3 separate regions of the Homo sapiens genome follow, and regions 1 and 3 are each linked to region 2. Evidence: promoter capture Hi-C in human tissues and cell types (Jung and others, 2019). All regions are on one chromosome and are shown on one strand. Each heading gives the region's core, a stretch centred on a gene start or on the middle of the fragment in contact. The rest is flanking DNA. Distances are from core to core; before and after follow the strand shown. Region 1 has its middle 49 kb from the start of SIX6. Region 2 holds the start of SIX6 (SIX homeobox 6). Region 3 overlaps C14orf39 (chromosome 14 open reading frame 39).

Region 1 (4,600 bases), core at 1,589-4,088, 50 kb after region 2:
AATAAACACCAAAATCAAAAAAGAAGAAAGATCTCAAATAACATAGTATTACACCTCACTAAATTAGAAAAAGAACAAACTAAACCCAAAGTTAGTAGAAAGAAGGAAATATTAAAGAGCAAAGCAGAAATAAATGGAATAGACACCAGAAAAATAGTAGGAAAAAAACAATAAAACTAAGAGTGGCTTTTTTAAAAGATAAACAAAATTCAAAAAAGAGAAGACTCAAATAAATTCAATCAGAAGAAATGAAATAGGAGACATTACAACTGATACCATGAAAATACAAAGGATCATAAAAGATGACTGTGAACAATTATACACCAACAAATTGGATAATCTAGAAGAAATGGATAAGTTCCTAGACACACAACCTACCAAGACTGAATCATGAAAAAATAGAAAATCTGAACAGACCAATAACAAGTAAGGGCTTTAAATCAGTAATAAAAATATCCTATCAAAGAAAAGCCCAGAATCTGATGGCTTCACTGCTGAATTCTACCCAGCAATTAAAGGATTAAAGCAATTCTCAAACTCTTCTAAAAAATTGAAGAAGAAAGAATAAAATGAAACAATAATCACTAGTTTGCGTGGTTGTTCTGAGATTTAGAGATAATACATGTAAACACCTAACATAATATCTGGTCTCCAGTGAGTGCCATTAAATGGTATTCTTATGCACATTTCAGCCTGGCATGGTGGCTCATGCCCATAATCCCAGCACTTTGGGAGGTCAAGGTGGGTGGATCACTTGAGCCCAGGAGTTCCAGACCTGCCTGGGCAATATGAAGAAACCTCATCTCTACAAAATTACAAAACTTAGCCAGGTCTGGTTGCACACACCTGTGGTCCTAGCTACTCGAGAGGCTGAGGTGGGAGGATCGCTTGAGCCCAGAAAGTTGAGGCTGCTGTGAGCTATGTTCAGGCTACTGCACTCTAGCCTGAACGACAGAATGAGACCCTGTCTCAAAAAAAAAAAAAAAAAAAAATACACATTTCAATTCAAAGAATAATACATGTAAAGAACAAATTCACTTTTCAAAATTTGAAATTATATACATAAATTATGTAGGTCACTCTTACCAATAACTGTTTGCTAAAGAGAAATTGTTTAATACCAAAATACTTTATTCTAAGCTTTGCTTTCACCATCAATTCTAACTTGGTCATAAATCACAGCAATAAAGGCTGCCTCCATGTGAGTCTGAATGTCTAAGCTCCAAGAGCCAAAAGATGATTTTGTTTTTCATCTACCTTTGGGTTCCAGCTTACAAATATTTTCATTAAACATCTAATGACTTTGCAATGAAGTTACTATTTCTCTGTTCAGTGCCCAATTTAAAGCTAAACAAGTGGAAAGATTTAATATAATTTAATATAATTATTGCCTCATAAAATATCTAGGGTTGGAATTAATCCCTAAATTACCTGTACGTATACATAACTTTAGGAAGACACACTAAGTAAAAAGCAATTCCTTTTGTGCTGTTTTGTAAGGTTGAAGGCAGAAAAACAGCTTCTGTTCAGAGGAGGCCCCCAGTGAATTAAGGTTAAAAGGATTTGCCCTTGCAGGACCCCAGGTCTCTAATTGGGGCCTTCAATTCCTGTAATCCAGAAGGATTGAGACCAGACGCTTCTAGATTATTGCCAAAGCCCACAGGTGACTCAAAAGGAAAAAACAATTAGTGCCCCAAAAACCCTTCAGATAGAAAAGAGGTATTTAATGAAACCTGAAGCAGGCCCAGCCAGGGCAAGCTTCTTAGTGAATATTCAGCCATTAGCAAAAGGGAAGAAAATCTATTTATTTCCCTGTTCAGTTTTAATTTCACTAAATATCTGAGGTTTTTCTTTCTAGGGTACATTAATTTGCTACTTTAAAGGGACTACAAGGGTGATTATATCCATATTTAAGATTCTTTGCAATGCCACAATCTTTAATAGTAATAAAAATAAAACATATCATATAAAGAATTCAAATTCTATACATTTTTATTCTTGTAACACATAAGCCTGTGTGAAGAATCTAAAATCTTACAAACCCATTAAACTGCAAGAATAATTCAAGCAGGAAAGATTAGTATGGAAGGAAGGTTCTAGAAGCTAGGCTCCAAATGTACAGTGGTTCTCAACCTGGGCTGCACACTGGAATCACATGAGGAATTTTTTAAAATACCAATGCCCTCTACCCACCCATGAAGATTGTGACATAATCGGTCTGGGGGCAGCCTGGACATTAAGGATTTTAAAATCTCACCAGGTGATTCTAAAGTGCATCTAAGGCTGAGAATGACCTCTTTAAAGAAAAGTCAACAGGAGTATCGAAGACAATCATCTATTCCATTCAGGACCAGCTGCATGATTTTCAGGGCCCAGTGCAAAATGAAAATATGGGTCCCCTTGTTTCAAAATTACTAAGAATTCAAGATGACGAGAGGCAAGCATTAAACCAAGCGTGGGGTTCCTCTAAGCACAGGGCCCTGTCTGAGTGTCCAAGTCACAGGCCCATGAAACTGGCCTTGATTCCATTCTTTACTAAACCAAACTTTTATTTTTTAGGAACTAGTTTCTTTGGAATGGTGAGGAAATATGTCATCTTCTCAATGTGGTATTCACTGTGTCTCTAGGATCCCACAAGTAACTAATCTCTGAGCAATATCATTGTCTATTTAAACAGCCTGATTTGCCTTGAAAGCTCCCTCACTCTGTCAAGATGAATAAAAGGCAGAACTATAGAACGATTTTATAGAGACAATTGGGAATTTCACTTCGTAACCTCATCTACAATAAAAAAAAACTTACCTATGAAATATTAACTCTGAACGAAGGCTTCTTGGTCTAGAAAATAAAACATCTGGACGCAGCTGCTCATGGCTATATTCCCAACACTGGGAGGCCAAGGTGGGTGAATCGCCCTGGGCAATAGAGTAAGATCCCGGTCTCTACAAAAAATGCAAAAATTAGCTAGATGTGGTGAAGCATGCCTATAGTCCTAGCTACTCAGGAGGCTGAGGTGGGAGGATCACACGATCCAACCACTGCACTCCAGCCTGGGCGACAGAGTAAAACCTTGTCTCAAAAATAAATAAATAAACACAACAAACAAAAATCTTTGAGTCTGGAATAGTCTCTTTTAAAAACTCACTAATTCTCACATCTCTGCCCCATGCATCTGGCAATTATCACACTACAAATTTTATTAGCCAACATCTACAGTAAAGATTCAAACTTCTAAGCCTCCATTTGTTTAACAAATTGTTCTTATCTATTTACCAAAAGATATAATATCTGTTTACCAGTATGTATAGTTCTTATCTATTTACCAATATTTGTAGTATATTAAATATTACTATAATTTCTGGGAAAACCTGATAATCAAATATGTAGGAACTCCCTAATTGCAAATTTTGTCACTCTAGTCTTTTCAGGTTAAAGGATCACTTTTTTCTCTCTTTCACATTATACAATGTTAGGAGAGCCCCCTGCTGTCCAAAGTAAAATTCTAATTTCAGAAAATTTAAATAAATGGAGCACAATGCCTGCCCTCTCCTCACCCAGTTTATCCTCTTAGTATCACTGCTCTTGGAACTAATAGGGGAAGATTTAAGATTAGAGAGAATTAGAAAAAAGCTGTGAAAAACAGGCTTTGACTTGGGAGGGAAAAAAAAGTCAGACTCCTAGTTAGATAGATCTCAGATGCCCAATCACCCCAACACACACACACACACACACACACACACACACACACACACACAGACACACACGCTTCAGCCTCTACCCAACATTTCTAACCCTTCACTTCTCATTTGCATTTTGCAATGCTCCACTGTCTGAGATCCGTTAGGTTGAAATGAACCAGAAACTCAGGGGATGAGAGCCCAGCAATCTGTGTTTTAATAAGCCCACCAGAGGATTCTGATGCATGCCAAAGTTTGAGAAACACTAATTTACAACATTACCTCTTCTGATGAAATGAGAGATTTCATTTCAGAGGCACACAATCTAAATGTTCATAAGTGACTCAAGGAGTTTGTTACAAATCCAGATAGATTTGCAGGCCCCACCTCACCCTCAGATATTTTGATTCAGTAAGTCTACAGTAGGATCCAGAAATCTGTATTGAACAAGCACCACCGGTGATTCCAATGCAAGTTAATGGAAGGACCATACTTCCTAAGTCACTAATATAGTGAGTGGGGTGGGTAATTCTAGAGCATGGAGCACATTAGGAATATGTTAGACTTGAGTGGGAAACCACAAGGTGGGAAGCATTAAAGATAGCATGGGAGTCCTGGTTCCTTGGGAGAAGGGTGCAGAAAAGGAAGCTGGCACTGGCCAAATATAAATTGTTCTTGTTTTAAAATATTTTGCCTGGGTTTTGTTCTGCTTCATAAAAACAAAAGACCCTACTTCCTTCTCATCTCTATTACTGCATGGCTCCTTTCTACAGGCCCCAGAAATCAGGCTACAGTTATTGTGAAAGTCATTATGGTTTAATTGAACTTTTGTTGACTAGTCAGAGAAACTAACCATCATATATGATCATTTTTATGGGAATGTGTTCCTATAGAACAAATATTTAAAAGAAACTTTTGGAACA
Region 2 (4,516 bases), core at 1,391-3,890:
AGGGGGCTCGGCTCACATACTTCTTCCTGTTCGTCCCTTCCCCTTGTGAAGCTGGTGAACAAATAAGTGATTCCAAGGTGCCCTGGCGCAGTCTATTTCCTTTGGGTTAATAAAATTAAATCAAGTCCCTTGCGATGGCGAAGATGGATCTCCTGATAGTAGTCCCCAACCTCCAGGCACTTCTCAGTCCCTTCCTGCCAAGCCACCAGACAGTGCTCCTACTCTGCCACACGCAGCCCGCACCCTTCTGGCGGCTCCCGCGAGGCCAACTCAGACTCTCAGTTCCAGTTGCCCGCGAGCCTCAGACACGCAGAAGCTAAAGCGCCCTCATCTAATTATTTGCAGAACTATTATCCAAGAAATGGGCCATGGGATAAATATTCCCATTTCCTGGATGGGGCCCCTAGACTGTCCACTTGCTCACAAAGATTAAGGGTAAGAAACCAGCTCTCCCCGAATGTGCCGCTTCCAAACTGTCCAGTAAAAGGGCGAGAGGGAGACGTGTGGTCTCCTGGGGCATGGACAACCTCTCCCACCTCAGCAGCTAGGCGCTGGGATCGGGGTCGGCTCTCGGCTCGGCTCGCGGGCTGTAAGGTCTCCGCGGACCCCACCGCCTCTTCTGCGCGCTAAGGGTGAGCGCCAAGCAATTTCGCGAGCAATAGCCGGCAAAGTAACCACCCCGAGAGGGAAAATAAACCTCTGCAAACTGGAGCAAGGGGGTGCTTTCCTCCCCTGGCCAGAAGCTCCGGGATCGCAGCCCTCCCGGGTCCGGCTTCATCCCTGCCCGGCCACCGAGGCCCTCTTTTTCTGCACCGCGGATTCTCCTCCGCCTGCGTGTTCGGGGCCCTTGTATCCGATGTTTCTTTCTAAAAGTTGTCCTTCCGGCTGATTCGGAAGTCGCTCCAAGGGAAAGAAGGTTTATGCTTTGTCATTATCTTCATCGCCCTCTTTATTTTGCCCCTGCCTTGTCGTATTTCAAGAAAATGAACTCTTAGAAAAGAAAGCCTCTCCGTTGAGGCGGTTGGCAATCTCACAGAAATGATGTAAATGGTTTCAGGGCTTTTTTCTTCCCCTCTGCTATTTTTTTCGAGTGAACTGTGAAGATCTGTGAAAATAATATCAGGGTTTTCCGTCAGAACGAGCTTTGCCCTGCACTCAGGCGTGGCGTGATCTGACCCGACACCTCCAACCATCTGTGCTATCTATCTGCCTTCTGATTTACCAGATCTGTACAAGCCGCATACAAATTGTACTTGATACTAAAGAAAAGACAGTCGGGTCCAGTCCAGTTCGGCTGTGAACGTTCTCACCTGATTTCTGTCTAGGGATGGACCTCCCCAAAACGGTTTTCCTGGCGTTTTTGTTATACAGCCCCCTACCAGTTATTTTCTTCAAACTAAACAAACCCCTACCACAGGCCCAGATGAGATCATGGTTTCTTTGACCCAGGCCTCAGAAAATGGTATGATGTGGACTGCCAATTGGGAATCAATAAAAGTTGCCAATTCACTCCACTAGCCCAAAGTCAGAGCCACCAAGCCACTCCTTCCTCACTACAGGAGGGGTCAATAATCAGCGGCTTAGGAAGTGCTTTCTGGGCCCCCGCATTGTCGTGGATGCCCTTCTGTATTGTATTTTTACTGAATTGTTTTTGAGCTAAAATGCCAAGGTTAGAGTTGTTATCCCCAGCTCAAGAGGTATAAGTTCTAACACAAGGTAGGGGCAAAATAAGCCTACAAGGAAAGGAGTTAAGTCGATATTTTAAAAAAGATCTAGGAAATAAGCTTTTAAGTTGCTGTCCTGACCTACCAATGACTTCTCGGCTCTAGATGTGGCTATGCTGCACTTTGTTCAAGTCCATTAAACTGGGGGAGGGGGAGAAAGTATATTTCTCCCCCTTTATTTGGAGGTCCCTACAGCCCACCCTTCTTTTCTTAAAGTGTCTGACTTCGTGGTCTGCATCTGCGTTATCAGACGTGAACATGTCCTTGTTGGCATTTAAAATTATTTTAGTGGGCTTTGAAGGGAGTAAGGCTAGAGTTCAAACTGACCTCTTCTACAGATCCCTGGTCCTGTTCCTGCTGCTCCAGATTTGCTTCCCACTCAGCTGCTTTGGCAACTGGAAAGGGGAAGAGGGAGGCATGCAGAGATGGGTACTTGGGAAAAATGAGAAGATCGCTTCCCCCCACCGGCTTCCTGCTCCCACCGCAAGGTTTGCTGTTTCGTTACAACTAAACTTGCGAATTCTCGGAGCATTTCAGTTTGGCCCAGTCCTCTTTGTCCTCTGGAGACCTCTCGACCGAGACAACGCATCGCCCCAAAGTGAATTCCTGAATTCCTGTGGCATCACTGCCTATTTGGTGGGAAAAAGGGAGGGAGGGGTAGAGCGGGGTGGGGGAGGGAGGAGTAGTGAACGCTGCCGCACTCGCCTCTCTTTTTCTCCCAGACACTCGCATGTCTTTTCAACCTCCAGGTTCTGCAAAATACTGAAGAAAAGTCCAGGAGCTAACGGCGGGCGCTGTCGAGCACGGGGAGGTGCTGAAATAGTCCTGGCGTGCTGATTCAAGCTTTGATTGGCAGAGCCACCCGGTGACTGACAGGGGGTCTCCATGGCGCCCGCGCCGCCAATCCGCCCACCCCAATAGCGGAGCCAGCTCGCCTGCCGGCGTGCCTGAGCCGAGCCGAGCCCGAACCCCAAGCCGCGGAGCCAGCACCTCCTCCAGTCGGGGTCGTCCGCTCCCGGCCGTTGAGCCACCGCCGCCACCCGGTAGTGTGTCCCGCTGCCCCAATCCGCCTCATCAACAAGCGCCTGGCACACTCAGCCAGGCCCGCGGGCATCTGCTGCGTGTCCCGCTCCGGGCTCAGTGCCCTCGCCGCCGCCGGCACTGCCTCGATGTTCCAGCTGCCCATCTTGAATTTCAGCCCCCAGCAAGTGGCCGGGGTATGTGAGACCCTGGAAGAGAGCGGCGATGTGGAGCGCCTGGGTCGCTTCCTCTGGTCGCTGCCCGTGGCCCCTGCGGCCTGCGAGGCCCTCAACAAGAATGAGTCGGTGCTACGCGCACGAGCCATCGTGGCCTTTCACGGTGGCAACTACCGCGAGCTCTATCATATCCTGGAAAACCACAAGTTCACCAAGGAGTCGCACGCCAAGCTGCAGGCGCTGTGGCTTGAAGCACACTACCAGGAGGCTGAGAAGCTGCGTGGAAGACCCCTGGGACCTGTGGACAAGTACCGAGTAAGGAAGAAGTTCCCGCTGCCGCGCACCATTTGGGACGGCGAACAGAAGACACACTGCTTCAAGGAGCGCACGCGGCACCTGCTACGCGAGTGGTACCTGCAGGATCCATACCCTAACCCCAGCAAAAAACGTGAGCTCGCCCAGGCAACCGGACTGACCCCTACGCAGGTGGGCAACTGGTTCAAAAACCGCCGACAAAGGGACCGAGCGGCTGCAGCCAAGAACAGGTCGGTACCTAGAGGCCTCCGCGCTTTGAGCGCACCGGGGAGGAGGCGGGTGGAGGCACCTCTGGCGCCCTTACCCAGTCCCTGGCGACTCCAATTCAGCAGGAGTTGGGAGCGCGGTCTGTCTTGGGTTAAGAGCCCTGCGTTCTGGGCTCCTGGCCGGGAGTTCCCTTGCCGGCTCTGCTTCCCCACCCGCTGGCTCCCCACGCCTGCGGGCAGCTGCAGCAGCTGGTCCCGGTCACCAAACCAAGGCTTCACTGGGACGGAGAGGGGAAGAGAAATAAAAAATTAAAATCCTACAAACAGTTAGGGACCCCAAGACCCAAAGCTAATTCTTGTCAGCCTGGGCACAGGCTCCTACTATTAATCGAAGCCTGGCTTATTAGCAATGTGTCGGTTTCATGTTAATTATCATTTTCAAAGCCCAGGTATATCCCTCCCTAATGCTTTGAAAACAGTTTTCAATGGACTTTTGAGAAATGGGAAGTCGAGTTTTCCTCTTCCCATGCGCTGCCTGCCACTCTTGTCTCAAAACAGCAAACTAGTCCGTGGGCCGAGGCTTTTCGTTTCCCGGAGTGTGGATCTCGATTAGCCAAACATTTTGCGGAAGAGCCCGGCCTCATCCCCCAGGCCCAAATGCTCCTTACAATCCTTTTTGCCTTTAGGTCGGGCCGACCCGATCCAACGCGATCGCGGGAGCACTTGCTCAGGCGTAAGCCCCAGGCAGACGCACCGTTAGAAATGGTATCCCATGTCCCTGGGACCGATCTGTCCTTGTCACCCACACTTCGTTTATTTCCTGACAGTCCTGTAAATCTCCCAAAAGTGCACAACAAACAGGGAGGACACTGCAAGCCCAGTATATAAAAGACCTGGGAGCTGCGGCGCTGAGAAAGGGCGCGAATCATGGTGGGGCACAACAGTAGGGACCCGCGGAGGGGCGGCCGCGGACTCCTGCCCGACCTCTGTCGCCTTGCCGAGTAATCCTCGCCTTAACTGCTGGGGTCTTCGGAAGAACCTCTAGCCGCCGGGCTGGAGGGACGCAGGAGGTGGT
Region 3 (4,691 bases), core at 1,901-4,400, 42 kb before region 2:
GTAATGGGTCATTTTTGGTGAATATTGCAAATAAAAACTTAACTGTATTCTGTGTATGTTGGGCACAAAGTTTGCTAATTGTGCTATTCAGATTCCCTAAATCCTTATTTATTTTTCCCCTATTTGATTTACCTCTGTGGCAGAAACTGCCATTTGCCTATCCTATCCAAAATCTAATTTCTCCTTGTGTTCTACTTTAAAAAACAAAGAAACAAACAAAAAACCCTGTTTCTCAACCTCTCCTGCAGATAGAGGTACCCAAATGACCAAGTTCTGGCCAATGAAATGATATCATAAATTGTTTACGGAGCTTCTAGGAAAAATCCTTAAAAATGGGGCTGACTCAGCTAGCCCTTCTCCCCTTTTTCTTTCCTGCCTGGAAGGCAAATTTACATGGTTACCTTCTGACCATGAAGTGACCTAGAGGTAAAAGCATAGCATGAAAAATAGCAGGAAAAGAAAACATAGATGAAGCTTGAGAAATAATGGCATTGTTGAGATGATGCTATCAGTCCTGAATCTGAATGACCTACTTTAGAATTTTATGGCAAGTAAGAGAAAAACAAACGTTTATCTTGTTTAAGATGCTATTATTTCACTGGTTTGGTTTTGTATTATTTCACATGTAGCCAAACTCAACTCCTAAACTCACAATCAGTACTCTTTTTGGAGAGAGCTATATTCAGCTTCTTGTTTTAACTGTGTATTCAACCATTTCTTTGAAAGTCTGTCAAACTCTGCTTTACATATTTTGAAACTTGAAATAATTTAGTGTATTGTGGTTTTTATAATTTCTTGGTAAATTGTTCTTTTTAAAAATATGAAATATATTTACCCCATTAATGCTTTTCACCCTGAACTCTATTTCGTACAACATTGTTACATCTGCCTTGTTTTCGTTTGCATTTGCCTGATATATTTTCTTCTTTTTTTCAGCCTCAATGTCAAGTTGTTTCCGCTCTTCTGCTTTAATAGCATATACCTGTATTTGTTTATATATCCCATAGAAGTAGTTCTGTCTTTTAATGGGAGTTTAAACCAGTCACATTTTTGTGGTTACTAATTTGTTCAGAACTATTTCTGGCACCTTATTCGTTTTCTATTTACAATGCTTTCTAACTGTTTTATTTTTACCCCCATTACTGTCTTTGTTGGTCTAATTAATTTTGCCTTATCTTTTTTCTTCTACTGTTTTAAAACTAACACATTCCATTTCTCTTCTGGTGGTTACCCTTAAATGTTTAATATGTATGCATAAATTTACATTTTTCCAACAATGTATAGAGTTCATCAGCGTTCATATCTTCTCCCTACCTCTATCCTTAAATAAAAAATAGAACTCTGGTAAACTTTTATTTTTCTCATTTATCTTTCCACCCTTATCACATATTGACATCATCTGGAATTTCAGTACCAGATTTAAAAATTTTTATAAGTTATACATATTTACACTTGAGTTTCACTAATTACTTTGGTCACCACTACCAGTGGAAGAACAATTATATTTTTCATTGAGGCTTTCCCTCTGGACTATTTTCAGGAAGAATGGGGAAAGATAAAAAAGTGTGCCACCAGCAGTTAGCTCTCTGGGTGGTATGCTCCTTGTTCTTCATGGGCATCAAGAACCACCCAGGGGACCTGCCTATCTCTCTCACCTAAACTTCCATATTCACTGCTTCCACCTGGAGACAGTCATTCCATTGCTGATGCCTGGCCAAAGATACAGTGGATATAAGATGAACAGGGGGTTAAGTAAACTAACTACCACTGAGGTAACGCAACCAATTACCTTACTCATCATCCGTATACCTTTATCTTGTAGAACGGTATTCTCCTATGCATGTCCTGGGCAATAATTTCCCTCTTCAATCCAATCCTGCTATTTTCCTTCAGGGATTTCTCACAGTTTTGGATCTACTATGTACAGAGCTTGGTATTTGAAAATATCTTTTTCTATTATTTTTAGGGATAAGGGGACAGGTTACAGTATATAATCAGAATGCCATATTGAAACACCTTTAAATTTTTTAGACCTTGAGTTTGCACTAATGGCTGATTTAATAAATTTATAACACACACACACACACACACACACACACACACACACACACACGTCTGTGTCTTAAGGGCAGTACATTCATTATTACATTTAATGCAAGCAGGTATTTAATTTATACTACTAAAAGTGAGACACCTACCTGTGTATCATTTTCTTTTTGTCTAAAGTCAATATTGGCAAGCTTTGACTGCTTCGCAGAACTTTCTTCTTTTATATCTAGATTATTAAATAGTACTACTTTAAATCAATGCTGGAAACAGAATCAAGTATCTTCCCCAATGTTTAACCTAAACTTGTAATTTAGAAAATCAAGTCTACATGAATTTTTAATTTAAATTAAAATACGGAATTATGAAATTATTTTAAAACTCTTAATTCCTTACTATATAATAGCTTTACAATAACTATGAAGATGAAATGACAAAAGGCCAACTGACAAAACTGTACCTTTATAATGGGTTACCAAAGAAGACAGAGTGGTTGAGAAGACAAAGAAACCAGCCAATGTAGTTAATCTAATATAATGTATTAGGTTGGTGCAAAAGTAATCATGATTTTTGCCATTACTTTTAATGCCAAAACCATTATGTAATGGTAAATGCCATTAAATTTTAATTAAACGCAATGGCAAAAACCATGATTACTTTTGCACCAACCTAATAGTTAATTTAATCTGCAGAGCCACTGAATGAAACTTGATTCAAATATCTCAGTGACTAAGTTATAGATACTATTAGCATAAGTCTTTTACCTGCCTAAGTCACACATATTGATAATCAACTCCTCAAATGAAAAATATGTAATTTTTCCTCCTCCTCTAACAGCTGTGCAACCAGGCCAGAACACTTTTTTTGAAATTTATTGTGTGAATAATTCCTTTCTCAAAGAGAAAAAAGTTACGTATAGAAGACATATTTTGTTTGCTCTCAGAAAGATTCAAAGCAGTACTCTCTTGAGTTTATAGGTCTCCAGTATTGTTTTTACTTACACCAAATGATAAATAAAATTGCTTCCTTCTATTTCTTCTGTGTGTTTGCAAAAAAAATGATGTTTTTGAATAACAAACAGATATTATACCTGCAACTCTTGGTTCTGAAGAATGCATCTTTATTGGTCTTACTAATTTCTGAGATTCATAAGGAAGAAATAATTGACTGCTTTGAGTTTTATTCAATGTAAGTACATGCTCATCTTTTCCAAAAATTCTAAAGAGAAAGGTGAATTACATTAAATATTAGATAAGTTAAAATTAACATATTTTAAAGCTAGGAGGCATATTTAGATACTATATAATAAAACCCCTCGTTTTGCAGATAATAAAACTGAGTTCCAAAGAATTTAATAGACTTGCCCAAAATGACTGAATTACTTAGTAGTGGTGTCAGAGCAAAAACACACTTCCCCTGATTAAGTTCAATGCTCTTCTCAATATAGTCCACTCTTATTTTTAAAATATAATCATTGCAAAAGACTTCCTACACATGTCAAAAACATTTTAAGCCAAAACTTGTAACTACAAATAGCATGCTTCAGATTTCATGGTACTTTAAACTTTAAAAAGACATATTCAGAAATAAATCAACCAACATGAATACAGAAATTGTTAAAACAGTATTATAATCATAAATGGGTCTTTTAAGTTTTTTACTGAAAGAATAGTTTTCACTAAATTTTATCTAAATTGAAGAAATAGAATAAACAGTGTCAGAATATATATTGAGTTAAAAATGACTAAATATTTATATGTTTCTGTCAATACATGGAATTTTTCTTAAAGGCGGTCAATAAAGTAAAATTCTGTCTATTTACCTATTTTTTCAATTAACTTCATTATAAAATTAAAGACACACTTGCACTGAATGTGGTACATGGGAGTGGAGGAATCAAGAAAATAACACATCCAAAAAAAGTAGGATCAGGGAAATTAACCCGACAGAAGAATGTGTTGAAAAATCAGATTAAGGGCCATGGAACTTGAGGAAAGGAGTTTCAGAAGAATGAAAAAGGATATAAGTAGGGGGAAAAAGTAAAAGCTGGTCAGAAATAGCAATAGTAATACATCTATTTTTCTGTCATATGATAACAGGCAAAGTCCATCTATTTTTTTTTTTGGCCTCTATCACTGATCTCTATTTTATCGCCATTAAAACAAAAGACAAGGAAATATGATGCCACACATTTAGTAGCATGCTTTGACTCATCTTCACTCTATAGCAAAGGAAGAACTGGTCAAGGTGGACAGGGTGATAAAAAAGTAAATACCTTGCTATTCCCACCATTGTTTCTGTTTTACTCCTATTGCTGGCCCATCATGGAAAACACTGGATGAATTATACAACTGACAGGTTCTAGAACAGCAGATGTGCTGCTGCTACTCTATTTCTCTTTACACATTATCCTCAGCCTTACTAAATAACAAGCAGATTTTAGTATTAGCTCATAATATTTAATAATATTTTTCATAAGAAATTAATAGAAAATAGCCTGCACAACAAAATTTACAGATACTGTGTAAATATTAGTGGTTTGGGATGGAATATAGAATCAAACTTTTAGATGCAAAATATCTGTTCACATAAAATTTAATTTTAAAGGTTACCTATACCTTTCTTTCAGTTCTTTTCTGTTTTCT

The links. Contacts are between HindIII fragments. The study calls those that stand out against the background at their distance.
Region 1: a fragment that was not itself captured here is called in contact with the fragment with the promoter of SIX6 in region 2 in 4 of the 25 tissues and cell types used here (H1 embryonic stem cells, lymphoblastoid cells, neural progenitor cells and 1 more).
Region 3: a contact is called between a fragment that was not itself captured here and the fragment with the promoter of SIX6 in region 2, in 2 of the 25 tissues and cell types used here (dorsolateral prefrontal cortex and psoas muscle).

The regions. Positions count from the first base shown.
Region 1 is chr14:60,556,090-60,560,689 of GRCh38, forward strand. No RefSeq gene overlaps it. Among named protein-coding and RNA genes, the nearest start is that of SIX6, 49 kb to the left of the region's middle. The HindIII fragment of the contact is 7,153 bases long and covers 1-4,600 here.
Region 2 is chr14:60,506,506-60,511,021 of GRCh38, forward strand. SIX6 (SIX homeobox 6) reads left to right here and starts at 2,641. Exons shown (of 2, transcript NM_007374.3): 1 at 2,641-3,465. The coding sequence starts at 2,894. It also overlaps a transcript of C14orf39 not described here. RefSeq lists an enhancer at 4,509-4,516. The HindIII fragment of the contact is 5,424 bases long and covers 1-4,516 here.
Region 3 is chr14:60,463,781-60,468,471 of GRCh38, forward strand. C14orf39 (chromosome 14 open reading frame 39) reads right to left here. Exons shown (of 18, transcript NM_174978.3): 9 at 4,665-4,691; 10 at 3,137-3,264; 11 at 2,199-2,275. Among named protein-coding and RNA genes, the nearest start is that of C14orf39, 20 kb to the right of the region's middle. The HindIII fragment of the contact is 6,931 bases long and covers 1-4,691 here.